2 separate regions of the Homo sapiens genome follow, and region 1 is linked to region 2. The links are contacts of gene promoters, found by promoter capture Hi-C in human tissues and cell types (Jung and others, 2019). All regions are on one chromosome and are shown on one strand. The core of a region is centred on a gene start or on the middle of the fragment in contact, and the rest is flanking DNA. Distances in the headings are between cores, read along the strand shown.

Region 1 (3,121 bases), core at 99-2,598, 36 kb before region 2:
GGGTTTCCAGGGAAACAACATGAAAAACAGGTGACATGAACTACAGACTAAAGATTGCAGCATTTATGTTAGAGAATGCTTGAATTAGAGAATTTTCTGCATTATCTTTGTCTGTTCACTTTCTATCTTATATACTTATCAGGGCCATACTGGTAAGCTTGCGTAGGAGGAGTTAGAGGGAAGTTGAAAGCCAACATCTGGATCAATGTAATGTCAAGATCACAAAGACAGAGACTGCAGGGGTCCACTGTGAGAGGTGACACTGTTGGGGACCTTCCTGATTCATTCTTCTTGGGCTTTGCTAGCCTGTACAACCTACATGTCTTTTCTTCCACTGCCTGAAAGACTTGGGTTGAACTATAACTGTTGGAGAGAGATGTTCCTCTTTAATCATGAAACACCTTAAGAAGTCTATAATGCAATCCTTAGTCCTACCCTGAACCTATGTGTCCTCTAAGTCAGGCCCTGATCTAGTGCAGTAAAGGGAAGGGTGGGCTTAATGGGAGCTTTGCCTGGGACCTGAACCTGGAGCACTTACCGCATTAGGAAGAAAGGAGCTCCCCGTAATCGTTCCTGACCCTTGTGTCTCATATACCCTATCCTGGTGGAAATGACCCTATTTGATATGCTGTCCCTTAAAATAACTTGTATCAATATTAAAATGACTATTTCTACCCTTTGATGAGTAAATGCAGTGGTTCTTAAAGTGGTCTCGTCTCCCTACCCCACAATATTTTGGTACTGCCACTTTGGGAAGCCAAACTAGGATAGTAAATTGACCGGAACACAGTTGTGGAAATTTGACCTGAAGTTAGTGAAATAAAACTTAGTAGGGAAAAAAAGCTTAGCAAGAGGTCTACTCCTCCATAGATTCATTTATTGAACTTACATTGGTTTTATTGTCCCTTGTTTTCTGTTCCAGCTTTTCTGATGCCTCCACTGTTCCCATGGTATCCTGACCCTCTATCTTCTGTTGTAGGCTGACTTCTTTTATATGAAGCAAGTAAAGGATACTAATAAGAATACCACTGTAGAATCCTGACCATACCCTTAAATAGTTATGTGATGATGGGCAAATGATTTCACCCTCAGGCACTTAATATCCTCATCTGTAAAACTAAGGGATTAAACTAGAACTTTATTAACACTTTCGAGTTCCACTCAGAATTCCTAGAGGAACATCGGTGACTTTTCACTCAGAAAGTGGGTGGACTAGGCCTGAGTTTCTTTAAGTTGTTGAGTTACCTGGTATTAGGAAGACTTGTGTGACTTGCATAGTGGACTCTAATCTCTCAGTCTTTCTTCCAAGTTTGTTTATGCTGAATGTGATCTGCGGAACAGGGTTGTTAGAAATGCAGCTTTTTAGAAATGCAGAATTTTAATCGATACCAGGAACTACTTTATTTAACAAGGCTCCCAGGTATCATGCATGCACATTGAAGTTTGAAAAGTAAAGGCTTAATATTTTCATGAAATAGGCTTATATCCAAGCCTGCCATCTAGATAGGCCCTACCTATGTAATTTCAGAAAATAGTTTCTTAAGGACCGTGAAACTTGTATAGTTAACCTCTGTGCACACAATGCTGTGACTTTACATTTATTATGCGGAGCGCTTATCGTTTACCTCCTTTTTTCTCACCCTTCAACTTCCAGACTGGGGCTTGTGGACTTAGTGCGGGGCGTTCTAAAACAAAAACTAAACGAACTAAAAGAAACAAAAAAAAAATTATCAACCTGTCTTTTGACCTCTTTAAAATAAGACAACTACAGTTTTAAAGTGGCGTGGTTTTATTTTTCCATTTGGGCTCCTGCACAGTGAAATGTTGTGCCAACTGTAAATTCCTCGAATCTAAACAAGTGTCAGTCTTCATAATCAGCAAATGGCATTTTGGCACATTTGTTGAAACCCCATTTCAAGTCTGATGCTTTATGTTTTGGGAAAGTATAAAGAACCATCTGTAATTTCAGAAACTGGTGGTCCAGGCAAGGAGCCCAGGAGAGAAGCTGTTCTCATCTCCCATTAGTTGCCTTTATCTAGTGCTTGTTTCCCCCACAGCAGCAGACTTGGCCACAGGAAAAGTGGCAGATACCATTCCCTCAAGATTCTTCCACTCAAACAGGCCAGGAGCTCCCCTGGAGGGTTCTCTGTTCTACACAGACTTACTAATGAAATCCATCCTCCGTCTTCCCCAACTCTAACACAGTCCCACTCAGGGTCACTGAGCATCTGCTCTTCCTCTCCCAACTCACAGCAATTCCTTCCTTAAAAACAGTCCATCTGCTTTCTGGAGTATCTGATTGACCAGGAGAAAACCAAAAAAAAAAACCCATGCAGTGAACTGTGTATTTTATCAGTTTTTACCTCATATATTTTGATATTCTCCTAAGTGCATATACATTTAAAATTATCATACATCCTTGGAAAATTGACTCTTTTATCATTATTTAATGCTCAACTTTATTCCTGATTTTTGTTGTTGTTGTTCTGAAGTTGGCTTTGTCTGAAATTTACGTAACTACTGCAGCTTTCTGCTGATTGGTTTTGGCAGGGTGTATCTTTCTCCATCCCTTCACTTTTAGCCTATATGAGTCTTTTTATTTAAAGTGGATTTTTGGAAACAACATGTGGTTGGGTCTTATTTATTTGTTTTTGTTTGCTTTTAATCCACTCTGGCAATCACTACTTTTAAATTATCGACCCATATCATCTATATTTAGAGTAATTATTGATAAAATTAGGTTAATATCTACCATGTTTGTCAACTGTTTACTATTTATTGCATTTTTTTCTTTTATTTTTTCATTTTTGCCTTTTCTCACTTTAACCAGGCATTTTGTGTGATTTCATTTTATCTCCACTCAATATATCCATCATATTTCTTAAGAATTTTTTTAGTTTTAGCTCTGGGGTTTGCAATATGCATTTATCACTAATTTAAGCCCACCTTCAAGTTACACTATATCACTTTACATGTAGTGCAGTTACCTTATAACAGAGTATTCCTAATTCCTTCCCATCCACTATGACATTGCTGCCATTCATGTCACTTATGTCTATATTTTAACTACCTAATTGTTACTATCATAACTTTAAACAGTTATCTTTCAGATCGATTAATA
Region 2 (3,032 bases), core at 202-2,701:
TGCCTTCTCACTTTTTTCAAGAATCATTTTTAAAGAAGTACTTCTATTTTCTTAGTCTTTTCAAAGAGCCAAATTTAGCATTGCTGACCTCTTTTCTTTTGTTTTCTCTACTTTATTATTTCAGGTTTTTACATATTTTTCAGTTCTTTGACAACTCTGTAACTGTTACGTTACATGAAAGAGGAATAATTTCCAGATTACAAATGTCTGGAATCTCAAAGGGCAAGGTTCTTGACTCCTTTCACAGAAGAGAAGGTCAAGATTAAGGAAATTTGTCTTATTCTTGGTTGTATAGGTTATTAATTAATGTTTGTTGAATAATACTTTGATATAATTCTGGGAATATCATCAGGAGAACTATTTCTGGTTCAGGAAATTCAGCTGTGCCAATTGACAAATGTTTGTTGGAGTCTAGGAAAAGAAATTCTATTTCTATATCAAAATATTAGAAACCATAGTCTGAAAAGTAGAAGAACTATGTTAGTTCACTAGGGCTGCCATAACAAAACAGAATATACTAGGTGACACAAACAACAGGAATTTTTTTTCTCGCAGTTCTGCAGATTGTAAAATTCAAGATCAAGGTTGCACAGGTTTTGCAGCAGGGTTTGGTTTCTGGGGCTTAGAGATGGGGCTGTCTTCTTGCTGTGTTCTCACATGGAGAGATAAAGGGAGAGAAAAAGACAGGCAGAGAGAGAGAGAGAAAGAGACAGAGAGAGAGATCTGATGTCTCTCCTTTTACAAAGATACCAGTTCTATTGCATCAGGGCTTCATCCTTATGGTCTCATTTAACTTTATTCACCTTCTTAAAGACCCTACTTCCAATACAGTTACGTGGATTGGGTGTGTTAAGAGTTTCAACACGAATTTTTGAAGGAACACAATTCAGTTCATGGCAAGAACTATGAAGAAACTGAGATTAAAATATTTAAAATTGGATATTTTTAAAAGTCTGAGATATATGGTTGTTAGGTTATTTCTCATTCCGATAATGTATCCTGAAACTGGGTAACTGGTTTCTACATATGTCCTAGGATTGGGCTATACCATTCACCTTTTTTCTCCTTTCCCAGGGTCAATCTTAGAGGTAGAAAATAGAGATTTGGCTCCCCCTTGTTCCTATCCAGCACTGTCACAGTGGGAAACATCACCATATTCTATTTCAACTAGACAGTTTACTCACTTCTAATTACTCCCTTTGCTCAACAACCTCCTTGAATAGGACTCATTCAGGAATGGGGTCCCAAAGGCTCCAAAGATATTTAAATTTCCACGTAGGAGAAAGCAATGTAGATATCAGTGTCTTGGAAGATGTCTGTGCAGAAGACAGAGACGCACGCTGCTGCATGTCATTTAGTCAGAGTTTATTTGGCTAAGAAGAAAGCATTCCAGATCATGGGTGGAGATCCCTAACCTCTAATATGCCAAAGGAAAATTTGGACTAAAAATCCTATACAAACAGATGATTAAATGATCATACTTTCTCTTTGTAAGTTACATAAGTGCCATCTTTGCCTCTTTCTCTCTCTTTCTTTCTCTCTCTCTTTCTCTCTCTCTTTCTCTCTCTTTCTCTTTCTTTCTCTTTTTTTCTCTTTCTTTTTTTTTCTTTCTTTCCCCTTCCTTCCTTCCCTCCCTCCCTCCCTGCCTCCTTCCCTCCTTCCCTCCTTCCCTCCCTCCCTCCCTCCCTGAGTCTCACTCTGTTGGCCAGGCTGAAGTGCAGTGGCACGATCTCAGCTCACTGCAACCTCCACCTCCCGGGTTCAAGCAATTCTCCTGCCTTAGTCTCCAGAGTAGCTGAAATTATAGGGGCCCTCACCTCTTTTTTCACTCCTCTTTTATGCTTTGTGTATCCAATGGAGAGGAAAATTTGGAGTCCTCAGTTTACAAAGTATTCTCAGAATTCAGAATGAACAGAGAGCATGGATCTACTGGCCAGAAGAATAGATCTTATTTGCTTGGTTTATCTTTGAGCCCATTGTGCTGGCCCATCAGCTCACAAACCCCATTCTTGTTATTTCACTTTACAATCAGGAATTTGGACTTGATTTTATATTATTAAAGTAACAGAAACTCTAAATGAGCCCATATGTGGATATCTTCATTTGATTCTTTCTTTGATGTATGACAGCCAGGACATTTTTGGAAGCAGTATAGATTATATGTAGCACTTGTCTTGGGTCTGATTGCTTTTTGGAATGTAGTGTAGAGCTTCTTCTGGAGTGCAGGTGACATGATTGTAAACAGAGAAATTCCAAATATACAGGAAATGGGCAAAAGAGAAACAGGTAGATGATCAAGTTGCTTTAGAAGACTGTGAGGAGAAATTACTATCTGATAGTACCACACAGATCCTTGCACAAGAGGAATGATATCCAATTCTTGCCAGGCATTGAGTGAGTTATCTTATTTCCTTCATCAAACGTTTATTGAAAAAGGCACTGTTCTTTGCACTGAGAGTATAATCGTAAACACAAAAAATATTTACTCTCCTAGATGTTATATTTGTGTGTGTGTGGGGAGGTAGCTGGATATATATTGATTTTCCATTGCTTACTAAGGAGGAGGAGGAACAACATTTTAAGAGCCTGGTGATGTCCAAATGAAAAACATGGTTAATACCGGGGTAAGATTTGACAAGGCCAGTAATGCCGTGATCTATCACAGATGGATCCATCCAGACCCGGGGGAAAGACTGATGTTTAAAAAGAAAAAAAAAGAATGTAGATGCCTAGTTCTACCAAGAACTAGCTGCCTTAATTTAGGAGAGTCACCTAGCCTTCCTACTGCTCAAATGTAATCTTTTCTGTAGACCTCCTCAAAAAGTGACTGCCAGGATTAGATGAACGGAGATCATGTTGTATAAGTGTTTTGAACTGCAAAGCAGGGATCAACCTTTATGATTCCCTTAAAAAACGTAGACATAAAATCTAACGTTGTTGCTAATAATGGCTTACAAATATGATGATTCCCGAATTGTGGTTCATATCTCCAGTGATATAAAAAAGCCCTCAAATAATCCTGACATTTCACA

The links. Contacts are between HindIII fragments. The study calls those that stand out against the background at their distance.
Region 1: a fragment that was not itself captured here is called in contact with the fragment with the promoter of OR10D3 in region 2 in 3 of the 25 tissues and cell types used here (bladder, pancreas and psoas muscle).

Annotation. Positions count from the first base shown.
Region 1 is chr11:124,146,223-124,149,343 of GRCh38, forward strand. VWA5A (von Willebrand factor A domain containing 5A) reads left to right here. Exons shown (of 19, transcript NM_001130142.2): 19 at 1-1,499. Among named protein-coding and RNA genes, the nearest start is that of VWA5A, 32 kb to the left of the region's middle. The HindIII fragment of the contact is 3,586 bases long and covers 1-3,121 here.
Region 2 is chr11:124,181,894-124,184,925 of GRCh38, forward strand. OR10D3 (olfactory receptor family 10 subfamily D member 3) reads left to right here and starts at 1,452. Exons shown (of 2, transcript NM_001355213.3): 1 at 1,452-1,490. The HindIII fragment of the contact is 12,854 bases long and covers 1-3,032 here.